2 separate regions of the Homo sapiens genome follow, and region 2 is linked to region 1. The links are contacts of gene promoters, found by promoter capture Hi-C in blood cells and fetal thymus (Javierre and others, 2016). All regions are on one chromosome and are shown on one strand. Each heading gives the region's core, a stretch centred on a gene start or on the middle of the fragment in contact. The rest is flanking DNA. Distances are from core to core; before and after follow the strand shown.

What was found. Contacts are between HindIII fragments. The CHiCAGO score rates a contact against its expected background, and 5 or more counts as called.
Region 2: a contact is called between the fragment with the promoter of ULBP2 here and a fragment that was not itself captured in region 1, in 1 of 17 cell types (endothelial precursors). The highest score is 7.1, in endothelial precursors.

Annotation. Positions count from the first base shown.
Region 1 is chr6:149,829,642-149,836,040 of GRCh38, reverse strand. The region is part of intron 5 of LRP11 (LDL receptor related protein 11); the gene reads left to right. The region is part of intron 13 of RAET1E-LRP11 (RAET1E-LRP11 readthrough); the gene reads left to right. Among named protein-coding and RNA genes, the nearest start is that of RAET1E-AS1, 31 kb to the left of the region's middle. The HindIII fragment of the contact is 4,487 bases long and covers 989-5,475 here.
Region 2 is chr6:149,938,752-149,945,150 of GRCh38, reverse strand. ULBP2 (UL16 binding protein 2) reads right to left here and starts at 3,137. Exons shown (of 5, transcript NM_025217.4): 1 at 2,994-3,137. The coding sequence starts at 3,078. RefSeq lists a silencer at 3,140-3,269 and enhancers at 6,012-6,311, 5,800-6,399. The HindIII fragment of the contact is 19,686 bases long and covers 1,492-6,399 here.

The DNA.
Region 1 (6,399 bases), core at 1,983-4,482:
TAGCCAAACTTGGCTCACAATTAAGTTTATGTTTGAAGAGTGTTAAGGAAGTATCTTGAAATAAGAGTTAAAATTAAGAATTTGGCCAGAAAGGCGGGGGGAAATCTTGACATTTGCACTAATTTGTAGTAAGGGACACTTACTAAATACACTCATGTACCTACTCCAGAGACACTAATACATTTATTTGTAAATACATTAACACTTAGCTTACGTAAACCAATACCCAAAGTGTTAAATTTTAGGTTGTTTTGAGATGAAACAGCATAACCATTATGTATTTGTGTAAATCCTCTTCACCCAAGCAAGTGAACATTTAAACAAGTTGTCTTGAAAGAGATGCATGTGCTAGTAATTCAACGTTATGCCTCCAATTTAACTAAATCTATCACTAAAAAAAGTAAGGCTAATGAGATTTATTTTTATTTTTTTTGAGACAGGGTCTCACTCTGTTTCCCAGGCTGGAGTACAGTGACGCGATCACAGCTCACTGCAGCCTCAGCCTCCCAAACTCACATGATCCTCCCATCTCAGCCTCCTGAGTAGCTGGGACTATAGGCGTAGTAGCTGGGACCACCATGCCTGACTAATTTTTGTATTTTTTATAGAGACAAGGTTTTGCCATGTTGCCCAGGCTGGTCTTGAACTCTTGGGCTCAAGCAATCTGCCCACCTCGGCTGGCCTCCCAAAGTGCTAGGATTATAGGTGTGAGTCACTGCACCTGGCCTAAAATACATTAACATGACTAAAGCATTACAGAATTTAGCCAGATGCAGTGACTCACCTATAATCCCAGCTACTCTGGAGGCTGAGGCAGAAGAATTGCTTGAGGCCAAGAGTTTGAGACCAGCCTGGGCAACATAGTGAGACCTTGTCTCAATCAGTCAATCAATAAGTATTACAGGATTCCATCATTTTTTACACACTTATTATTTGCATGATTATGTGACATGAGACAGAAATAGAGATTATCACATTTCCAAAAGCTTTTCTAATGTCTTTTCAGACTCTGCATAAGTTGTATTGAAATAACCTGACATGATTTTAGTAAGTTTATTAAGAAAAATTTTTGTTCATTGTACAAGATACGGAAGATGCAAAATAATTTAAGAAGGAAAGTGAATTTAAAATACCACCTCTTTTGAAAACTGCTTTTAATATTTGTTATATTTCCTTCCACTCTTGTTTATGTGCCTTGTAGATTTTAAGTGCCTCCATAAAAATATGTCTGCAAAACATTGCATTCTATCAGGGGCTTTTCTTTCTGAGTTTTGGTTAAGAATGCTGCCAAGTGTCTGCTTTTTTGGTCCATTCCTGGTTGGTACTGCCACCTACTGGTAAAATCGGTCACTACATGCAAGCCTTTGGATGTGGTTTTAGTGGGTTTTCTCTGCTTAAGATAGTTTGTATGGAGAAGAGCATCACAATCTAAGAAACAGAGTTGGGCAGACCAGGCATCTTTGGCAGGACTGCCGAAGGGGTGAAGAGTTTATGGAGAGATCTGTGTTATCAGAGGCCAGGATGGATGAATTCCTACCACATTACTGTGGTGGAGAGAACCACGTGAGCATGAACAAATTAGCTGAAAGTAGAGTCGAGACCAAAGCCCAGGTCTTGGCTCTACCTTTAGAACCTTGAATAAGTCACTTCATATCTCTGGACCTCAGTTGCCTCATCTGTTAATAAGGGACTTCAACCAGATGTCCTCCAAGGTGCTGTCCAGCACTGAGGAATGATAAATAGGCTGACATTCATACTTTACCCCATCAGCCCTTACCCATGCTAGGTGTCACTCATTGGTCCCAGCACTGTCCCATGGGGAATGTGGACTTAGCTCAGAATCCTTTTGAAAATAGTGCTCCAGGCTAGAAGCCATTATTCTCAGCAAACTAACGCAGGAACAGAAAACCAAATACTGCATGTCCTCACGTTAGAAATGGAAGCCGAATGATGAGAACACATGAACATATGGAGGGAAACAACACACACTGGGGCCTGTCAGAGGGTGGGAGGTAGGGGGAGGGGGAGCATCAGGCAGAACAGCTAATGGATGCTGGGCTTAATACCTAGGGATGGGATGATCTGTGCAGCAAACCACCATGACACGTTTACCTGTGTGACAAACCTGCACATCCTACACATGTACCCCGGAACTTAGAAGTTGGAGGGAAAAAAAAGAAAATAATGCTCCAGGCTGCCACCTGCGGCTGATGGGAGTCAGCACCCAATTTCCAATCTATTTATGATCTCTCCTTTTGCTTTTTGATAATCAGCCTTTGGATTTGGTTATGAAGATGTAAAGAGTGGTCTTTCACAGATGCAGAGAGATTAGATGTACAGTTATTATATTAGGGCTTTTTCTAATTATTAAAATAATATGGATTTACTGTAGAAAATATAGAAAAATACAAAGAAAGTTAAAAGCATCTAGCAAAACTCACCATTAAAATTTTGTCGCATTTTCTTCTGGTTACTTCTATTCATACACATATACATATTTATTCATTTTTAACAAAAGCAGGATAATGCTTTTATAAAACTTTTTTCTTACTCATGAGCATTTTCATGTATTATTAACTATTCATCAAAAACACACTTTTTGAAAGTCCTGGGGTGAAGAAAGTGGGAAGAAAAAAACAAAACTGAAAATGTTAGAAAGAGCCCTCACATCCTGTAGTTTCTGTTCAGACAGTAGCTGTCCCTGCCCTCCCCCTCTGCTGTCCCTAAGACCACCAGAGTAGAGTCCTCAGCCTCTGATTTCATGTAAGTTAAAGACCCATAAGTAGATTTAAAAGTGCATTATTGGCCGGGCACGGTGGCTCACGCCTGTAATCTCAGCACTTTGGGAGGCCGAGGTGGGCGGATCATGAGGTCAGGAGATCGAGATCATCCTGGCTAACACGGTGAAACCCCATCTCTACTAAAAATACAAAGGCCAGGAACGGTGGCTTACGCTTGTAATCCCAGCACTTTGGGAGGCCGAGGCAGGCGGATCACAAGGTCAGGAGATCGAGACCATCCTGGCTAACATGGTGAAACGCTGTCTCTACTAAAACTACAAAAAATTAGCTGGACGTGGTGGCGGGCACCTGTGGTCCCAGCTACTCGGGAGGCTGAGGCAGGAGAATGGCGTGAACCCGGGAGGTGGAGCTTGCAGTGAGCCAAGATCGCACCACTGCACTCCAGCCTGGGCGACAGAGCAAGACTCCGTCTCAAAAATAAAATAAAAAAATAAAAATAAAAATACAAAAAATTAGCCGGGCATGGTGGCGGGCACCTGTAGTCCCAGCTACTTAGGAGGCTGAGGCAGGAGAATGGTGTGAACCCAGGAGGCAGAGCTTTCAGTGAGCTGAGATTGCGCCACTGCACTCCAGCCTGAGCAACAGAGCGAGACTCCATCTCAAAAAAAAAAAAAAAAAAGTACATTGTTGTTCATGACACATGCCTGGGTTTTAAGAAGACCATCAGCTAGTACAATAAATATGAATGAGTTAAATTCACTGCTGCCTCCTTCCTGCACAGACATGTGGTGAGGACAAATAAGACTTAGCTCGGCTGGGCGCGGTGGCTCATGCTTGTAATCCCAGCACTTTGGGAGGCCGAGGCAGGCAAATCACGAGGTCAGTTCAAGACCAGCCTGGCCAACATGGTGAAACCCCATCTCTACTAAAAATACAAAAAATTAGCTGGGCGTAGTGTCAGGCACCTGTAATCCCAGCTACTCAGGAGGCTGAGGCAGGAGAATCACTTGAACCCAGGAGGCGGAGGTTGCAGTGAGCCAAGATTGCGCCACTGCACTCCAGCCCAGGTGACAGAGTGAGACTCAGTCTCAAAAAAAAAAAAAAAAAAGACTTAGCTCATGGAAGACTTGTTAACAAGATACTAAGATTAATACTAACAGTGTAGCATGCAAAGTAGTGAGATGTAGTTTTTCACCTATCACATTGACAATGATGAAGAATTATAATAATTAATGTTTCTAAGAGTAGAGAGAAACAAGTCTCACACTCTGCTGGTAGCAATGCAATTAGTACGTCCTTCCAGAGGCCAGTTTCTGAAGGCTTAAAACTATGTATATGATCGGGTGCAGCAGCTCACACCTGTAATCCCAGCACTTTGGAAGGCCAAGGCAGGTGGATTGCTTAAGGCCAGGAGTTCTAGACCAGCCCTAGCAACATGGCAAAACCCCATCTCTACAAAAACTACAGAAATCAGCTTGTGGTATTCACCTGTAATCCCAGCTACTTGAAAGGCTGAGGTGGGAGAATTGCTTGAGCTTGGGAGGTCGAGGCTGCAGTGAGCTGTAATCCCACCACTGTACTCCAGCCTGGGTGACAGAGTAAGACCTCATCTCTAAAACAAAACTATGTGTGCTTTGACCCAATTGTCCCACTTTTGGGGATTTATTCCACACAGGTTACTGAGGATAAAATGAAGGTATGTGCAGACATTCAGTTACACCAGCGAATGCATGCTCAGTACACTCTGAGCCACCGGGCAGGAGGAGCACAGAGCTCCAGTGTGGCCTGTGTTTGCTCAGCATGTAAAGGCACAATGGCTGGATTGTTGACCATGGTCATAGCCGTAGGGCCTGTTCTCTGTGTGGTCCATGTCATTCATTAACAATTCCACCCTCTTGTATCCAAGCTACCCCGAGGAAAGAAATCTGGTTTCCAGCCCTACAAAGGGCTAGAAAAGTGGTGCTACATCCACATTCACGTGGAATCTGCTTTTTGAAACTTGAGAATTCCTGGGCATGTTAAAGTATTTCTTCCGGATCATGCCTGCATGCTCTATGGCAGCTGGAAATGAAATGAAAACAGCTTCCATCCAGCTGCCAATTCCCTCTGTGAATGTGTCGCCATGCATAGTAAACATAATACATTCAGAAGAAAGGAAAAATGGTCTCCTAAGACATGTAACTCTTCCAGAAGGATCATTACCAAAAGTAACTATTTCCAGAAGCAAGTGATGTCATTGTTTTGTTTTGTTTCGATTCGCCACACTGGCTAGAGCCTGTGATTGGATGTGTGAAAGTGAAGCATTTCTCTATGGCGTTCCTTATGCTGAAATCTAGGAAAAATGAATCAGGCAGACTGGGAAATCATAGGGAATTCCTTCATGGAATGTAAACAGCAGAAATTCACATTTCAGTTACCCAGAAGGCAGGGCCAGGTTCCTGGGTAATCCTAGAGTCTGGGGCAACTGCGCCTTCTGAAGTCTCCCATGCACACTGCCCGCTGCCTGATACCTGATCCCTCCCTACATCACCATCTTCCTCTCCCCAGGGAATAAGGGCATTTAAGAAAATGCTGTTTAAAAAAATTTTTCTTAAAGAAAGAAAGTGCTCTTTAATTTTGACAACTGAAGATTCAGAAAGAATTTGCATAGTTTTTTACATGAACCCACCTGTGAGGTTAGGTCCCTTTTGCAAGTACAGTTAGCCAATTTCTCTACTGCATCCTTAATAAAGCTTTGTCCAGAACCTTCCTAAAAATCATTTAAAAGTGTGTGATTTTGCCTGGGTATGAGTAAATAAATATAGTATTGACTTGGTTCTTGGAGTAAAAAACTCGTATTTGCTAGTTGTGACCTTGAGAGCAGTATGGTTCAATGGAAAACTGCTTTGGATCAGTCCTGGGTTCTAATTCCAGCACCACCAATTACTAGCTACTAAGTAATCAACTTCTCTAAACTTCATTTCCTTACCTGTAAGAGGATAATAATCTCAGCTGGGCACGGTGGCTCATGCCTGTAATTCCAGCACTTTGGGAGGCCACGGCGGGTGGATCACCTGAGGTAGGGAGTTCGAGACCAGCCTGGCCAACACGGAGAAACCCCATCTCTACTAATAATACAAAAATTAGCCAGGCGTGGTGGTGCATGCCTACAATCCCAGCTTCTCGGGAGGCTGAGGCAGGAGAATCGCTTGAACCCAGGAGGTGGAGGTTGCAGTGAGCCGAGATTGCGCCAGTGCACTCCAGCCTGGGCAACAAGAGTGAAATTCTGTCTCAAAAAAAAAAAAAAAAAAAAGAGGATAATAATCTCTCATAATATGGCTACAAAGATTGCAGGAGATATTATATGTAAATATAATTGATGTCTCTCAGTAAATGTTAGTGCTGTTTGAATTTTTGCTAGAACATTCAAGTCCAGTGGTATTCGCTAGGAAACCAGGGTAAGAGAGCGCCAAGTGTATAAGGCAGTTAATTCAAATAAAAAATAGAAATAGTGCAGTAGTGTTTCCAGTACTGAGTTCCTTTAAGAATTAAGATGAGCAAGCTCTCATCTTCATTGGGAAGAAACAGTGAGGTGAACACTGTAAATGCAGTTATCTTATTTTTTTTATTGGGTGAAAGACAAACCAGTTAGTCCTCTGAAAAAAATCGGGAGTTGGTG
Region 2 (6,399 bases), core at 1,888-4,387, 110 kb before region 1:
GCTCGCCCCTTGCATGAGGACAAGGAGGAGGAGGAGGAGGAAGTCTCTGTCTGCTGAGAAACCACATGTCCCCAGACATGTCCCACTGCCCCTCTGCCCACATCAGTCAACACGTGACCTTGCTAGAAAGGTGCCAGGCCTCTCTAGCAAGAGAGGAGGAAGGGCCTGGATGGCAGAGGATCTTCAGCAGTAGCCCACGTGGACTGCGGGAGGTGGGAGAGGGTGTGGGTCCACCCCTGTGGATGCTGGTGCTGGTTGAACAGAGTGAGGATGGAACCCCGTTGGATAAAGAAGAGTTAATTATCATGGCCACAGGATTTAACATGTTGGCAAAGCCCCTGGTGATGGCATGCATCTGCTATGAGGAGGCCTTCCTGAAACCTTGGACAAAGAGATGGTCCACACAGCAAGAAATGGAAAATCTGAAAGTCTAAGGCAGGTAGTGGAGGGAGAGATCACAGGCTCAGAGAAGTGCCCATGCCAGAGGGGTCTAAGTGTGAAAATCCAGAACAATGTCCATCCACTGTGCTTATGGGAAACCTGGAGGACTCCTGTTTACCCAGCATATAAAGAAGGCCCCATGAGAAGGCACCAGAATGGAATGAAGCTTAGGGATGCCTATTGCTGAAGGCCAGGGTTGGGGGTAGGAGATGCTGTTCCTGAAATCTGCTCCCAGAGTAATGGGATGAACAATTCTGAAATTCCAAATTCCAGGTGGAGGCTGTCAACTGTCAGGAGCAAGGAGGGTGCAATGATGGAAATGATTAGAGAAGTCACAATGCCAGCTGGGGACCTCAGTTATACAAAGTTATGCCCATGGCTCATAGAACAAAGGGGTCCAAGGTCCAAAAGAGATGCAAACCCACCCCAGATACTGCTGGATTTAAATAATTACAAGAAACAGAGATAAACCAAATCAGGAGGCTGAAAGTAGCCAGTCCATCAAGAACGAGGCTGCTTTGCCTAATTTGCAGAATGAAGCCACTTCTCAGACCCTGAACCCATGACTAGAAGAAGACACCAGTTTCTAGTGAGGAAGGACCCTTTAACCCTGCAGCCAGGACAGTGAGTCCTTGTGGCCTTCTCCAAAGATATTTATGGCCAGTAGAGTTTGCTGTGAAGGGCAATTTTGTAAACATGTAAAGGTGTGCAGGGAATATATTCTCCATTGTAACTACTCAACTCTGCTGTTGAAGTTCAAAAGCAGCCATAGACAATCCATGCATGATGAGCGAGGCTGGACCTACCTTAAGTGCCCAATGACCCAAGACCCCCTAAGACCCTAGAGGTACATGTGGTCACAATGTCTAATTGGAGAATCACAACAGAGATTCCATGTGAATATTCAGAGACAAGGCAATGCCACTCACAGCAAGGAAATCGCAACATTAAGCAGTGGCTCCTGTAGAGTACTGCACCTTGGCAGAGATGGGGCCTTTTGCCATGCATATAAAGAAGGCCCATGACAAGGCACCAGAATGGAATGAAGCTTAGGGATGCCTATTGCTGAAGGCCTCAGAGCTGCCCATTACTGGTGGGCTCCTCACCCTCTAGGTCATTAGGAAGTTAGGCCCAGCAGTGAGAAGACGCAGGTGGTTCTTCTGGGATGGGCAGGAGCAGGGCCACCGGGAACCAAGAAGCTGCACAAGCAGTTGGACCCGATCCCCAGGACACCACGTGGCTGCACCCCCTCACCCTCAGCTCACACCTGAGGCTTCAGGGAGGGTACCTGATGGTCCCCGTGGATGCCACTCAGCACAAAGGAGGGGAGAATAAGCCCCCAACTATGGGACCCCCACTCCCATCACATCCACACCACCCAGAAGCCACAGACAAGGTAGGACCACCTTCTACTCTCCAACTGACATCAGAGACATCACTTGGAGATGACACCATAGGGGATGGGGCACTATTCACTGGGACATTGTAATCCCCTGATCTGGGATCAGCAACCTAGGACAGGGTCCAAATCTGGTCCCCCCTATTTGAAGGTTGCCATTGCCTGCTGTTGCTCTACAAAGGGACAGGACTGGACACTGAGACGGAGAACCCACGGCCTGCAAAGATCACAGGGCATCCTTCCTCCCTTTCTAGAAAGAGTTTGCTGACCCCTGTCTACACAGTGACTATTCTCTATGACGCTGACACCCCCGTAGGAAGAACAGGCGGTCTGGGCCCCAAGGGCAGAAGTGGGTGCCTCTACTCACCAGAGTTCCCAGGGTCATCCTGGAGGAAATGGTGCTTCCCATCCCCCCTGCACAGGTTCTGAGGGGAGCTTGGGGTGTGTTTGCTGGGGTGTGTCCTCAGGCAAGAGGCAGAAGGTGCGACGTGGTGTAGGAGGTGGTGAGGTCCCCTTCATGGATGGGGAGACCTCTGGGGTGACCAGCTGGGCTGAGGTGGGCAGTAAGAGGACGTGACCTGGGTGGTGGCAGTGGATGGTGAGGGGAGGGGTGGCGGTTGTCTGCTGAGCCCCTGGGTGCAGGTGAGTGTCTACAGGAAAGTGCAGGGAAAAATTCAAGGGCACGCAGCCCTGGGGGCGCTGGAGGGTTTGTGTGGTGGAGAGCGGGTGAGAGCAGAGCAGGCCTGTGGCTGGTGGGGGTGTCTGTGATCGCGTCCCTGTGGAATCCCGCTTCACCCCTGTCCTGTCCCCAGCTCCGGTTCCGGGGGCTCTGGTTTTTCCTTCCCGAGGGCGGGTGGGACTGCCAGGCTGCACCAGGGATCCCCGCCCCACCTCGCTCTCTGCAGCCCTCCGGCCCCTCCACCCTCCTGCCAGCCTCCTTTCCACCCCGCTCCTTTTCGCCTCTTCCCGGGCAAGAAGCAGCCTCGGGGACTGCACCCAGCAGGAAGGAGCCGCCGACCGGAACTGAACGGGGGCGCAGTTAGGGGAGATCTCCCCCGTCCTTCTAGAAGCCTCCCCTCCTCTGAAACCCGCGGCAGTTCACAGCCCTCCAGGCTTGGTCCCCGCCCGGCTTAGGCTCCATCCACGAACTCACCGGCTCGCCCAGCCCGGGACCAGCCGGACAGCAGGAGCAGAAGCGGGAGGCACAGAAGGATCTTGGTAGCGGCGGCTGCTGCCATTAAGGACCCAGAGCGCTAGGGATGAGAGACTTGATGGAAGGAGAGCCTGGAAGATGAATCACCTCAAGGTTTTAAAGCCTCCCTATGTACGGGCGCGCCCCCCGTTTCCCGCTGTCATAGCGTCAAGCGGGTCATAGCGTCACGCGGCTAGAAATATGATTGGCTGCCCTGACGGTGTCCCTCCCCTTCCCGGGCGTCCCTCCCCTTTGTCCCAACCCCCTTCGGGTTGGTGTCTGGGTGTCCGCCCGGCTCCTGCCAAGACACGGTTCCTTCCACGACAGACTCATTTAATCATCACAACATTTTTTTATTGAAGGTGAAGAAACTTGCAGAGGAATATTCAGCGGCGGCGGCGTCTCCCTGTCCCCGCCTGGGTCCGCGACGCTCTCCCTCCCTCCGCCTGCGCCGCGAGGTCCCTGGCTTATCATGCTCTGGGCGCAGCCACGGGCCTGATCGCGTCCCCTCCACTACTGCGCCAGTTCCCAGTGGACGTGATTACAGTCCGGGCTAGGTTTTATTATTTATTTATTTATTTATTTATTTATTTAGAGACGGAGTTTCGCTCTTGTTGCCCAGGCTGGAGTGCAGTGGCGTGATCTCGGCTCACCGCAATCGCCGCTTCCCGGGTTCAAGGGATTCTCTGGCCTCAGCTTCCGGAGTAGCTGGGATTACAGACGCCCTCCACCACGCCCGGCGAATTGTTTGTATTTTTGGTAGAGATGGGGTTTCATCTTGTTGGCCAGGCTGGTCTCAAACTCATGACCTTAGGTGATCCACCCGTCTCGGCCTCCCAAAGTGCTGGGATTACAGGCGTTAGCCACCGCGCCTGGCCCGGGCTAGGTTTTATTACAGGAGCAGCAGGCAGGGTTCCAGAGGTTTAAAACAACATATTGTGCACTAAACAACTGGTCAAGATGGTAAATTTTATCTTCTATGTTTTTACCAAAATTAAACAGCTTTAAAAATATATATTAAAAAATTATGTCTTGTTCCTGCTCTGCCCAATGCAGATTGGCCAAAAGAGTCTACTTATTAAAATCGAGGACAACATGGAGGACCCCGTTCCTAAAATCTCAACCTGTGACACACTTGCTGATTTAGAAAGCTCCTCAGAGAGATGGGCCCTGAGCTCCCAGTTCAGCAGCCTCCCTCGCCCAGGTCCACGGATGGCACAGGGGGCTCAGCAGAGCAGGTTCAAGTGAAAGTTCCTGGTGGTTCCCCACTGTTAGTGCATTCTGCTGGCCTCTTCGCCCTGGGCAAAGGGCCAGCCACCCTTCAAAGCTAGGCACAAATGCCCGGTCCCATGCGTGTCCCTCATGTTCCCACAATACAGAACACCCTCCTGCTCGCTGAGACCTGGGTCCACAGTGAGTGCATCCAGATCTCCCTGTGTGACAACTGCTCACACAATTTAATTTGTGTGTGTAAGCATGTGTGACAGACTCTTACTCTGTCACCAGTCTGGAGTGCAGTGGCACGATCATAATTCACTGAATCCTCAACCTCCTGGGCTCAAGGCTTACTCCCTACTCAATATTGGAGAGTGTGGGGCAAGATAGTCTGAGCCACTAGCTGAGCCGTCCTCTTGTTACTGTTTCCTATGCCCTGGCAGATGCCTCAGTAGTATTCACTCCTGGATTTACCAAGCCCTGTGTTAGACTGGTCCAGGGGCTGAGTGGGTCTTGGCTGTGAGTGCAACTGGGGTGAGTTATTCTGCCAGGATTGGGAACTGTGTTACTCAGGAAACTTTTCTCATCACCCACCCCAATCCTGTCCCAGATGGGAGGAGCAGTGAGTGCTGTGTCCAGGCTCCCTGTCTTCCCAGTGCTCCCAGCATCACATGAGCTCCTCCCCAGATGGTGTGGGGTCTGGGCTCTCCATGTTCACCATGCTCCCACCATTGGCTCCCCATTTCACTGCTCTCCCAGGATCATCCCAGCCCCTCCAGGGTCACTGCCTGACCAGGTGGGGGTTGGGTGAAGAGGCAGAGGTCAGGGCAAGACCCCTGGTCCATTCTGACTTTAGGTTCCTCTCTGAAACGCGACTGCATTCCACATCCTGTTCCTCTGGCAACCTCAGTTGGGATCACCTGTAGGGCAGTGTAGAATCCTGGTGGGTGATGACCAATTCCTGCCACCGTGGCTTTTCAAGTATATCGATTTTTCCTAAAATGGATAAAGAGACTGGCAATAAGTTATGGAAATACTGTTTTCCTTACTAACAGTAGATACGTGTTTATGTATCAATTCTGGTTTTTAAAACAAATATAAACCCATAGGCACTCTGCTGAACACAGATTCTATCTCAAAATAACACACTTTGAAGATCTTGCAATACCTGCACATACAGATTTTTTCCTTTTTATCTCTGCACATTACATAGAATGACTGCATCACAACAAAAGTAACCAGTGTCTGTGTCTGAAGATCCAGACGGTCTCCAGTGACTTTTAGAGAAGCGAAATGCTGCAGAAACTGTGCTTGCATGAATCACAATTTCATTGTGTAGAATAGATTTCCAGACACAGAATTGCTGTGCGAAGTAATGCACCTTTAAAGCATCTCATGTCATAGGATGGCAATGCTGGCGACACTCTTGTCTGTGATTGTGATGACCCAGCTTGGGCAGAGGATGGTGAAACATCCACCGTAGAGGGAGGGGAAACTGGTACAGGCTTCCTGAAGGACAGGGTGACAGGGTTCATCAAGGGTCAAAAATATCCGCGTCTGAATTGAGAATATGTATTTATATTCGTTTGAAACGGCATAAAGACTCCCTGGAAAGATGAGAAGAATCAAATAAACTTTCCTCCCTGGCGTGTGGCCAATGAGAGTGGACGCAGGCAGGGGCGGGGGAGCCTTTCACACATGACTTTTCAGGGTTTTGATTCTGAAACAGGTGAAAATGTGGAGGTGAAGTAGTAAGTAAGAGTGGGGCCGAGAGTCCCAGGGACGGTCACACGGTGGGCCCGCCTGATCTGTTGGGGGCCACTAGGGTCCGGGGAGGGGAACCCGGGCAGCTGCGTGCGGGGCTGCTGCAGTGACGAGGCACCGGTTCTAGATATTTACCCAACGGTGTTGTCACAAAGGGGATATTATAGGTGATTTCTGATTTCAACCGCAGATGACTTTCGGAGACAGTTCGCATATGCGGTTTCAGTTTTCACCCTGCTGCGTCCTCTCCGGGTTCTGCGCGCTCCTCCCAGGACGCCCGCTTCGCCCGAGCTCCGGACCCGGGTCCTGCCCGGTTGAGACCGCCGAGTGGGTGCCACGCTGCCCGCCGATGCTCCCGGGCCTCCGGGTCCACAGCCTCCGGACAAAA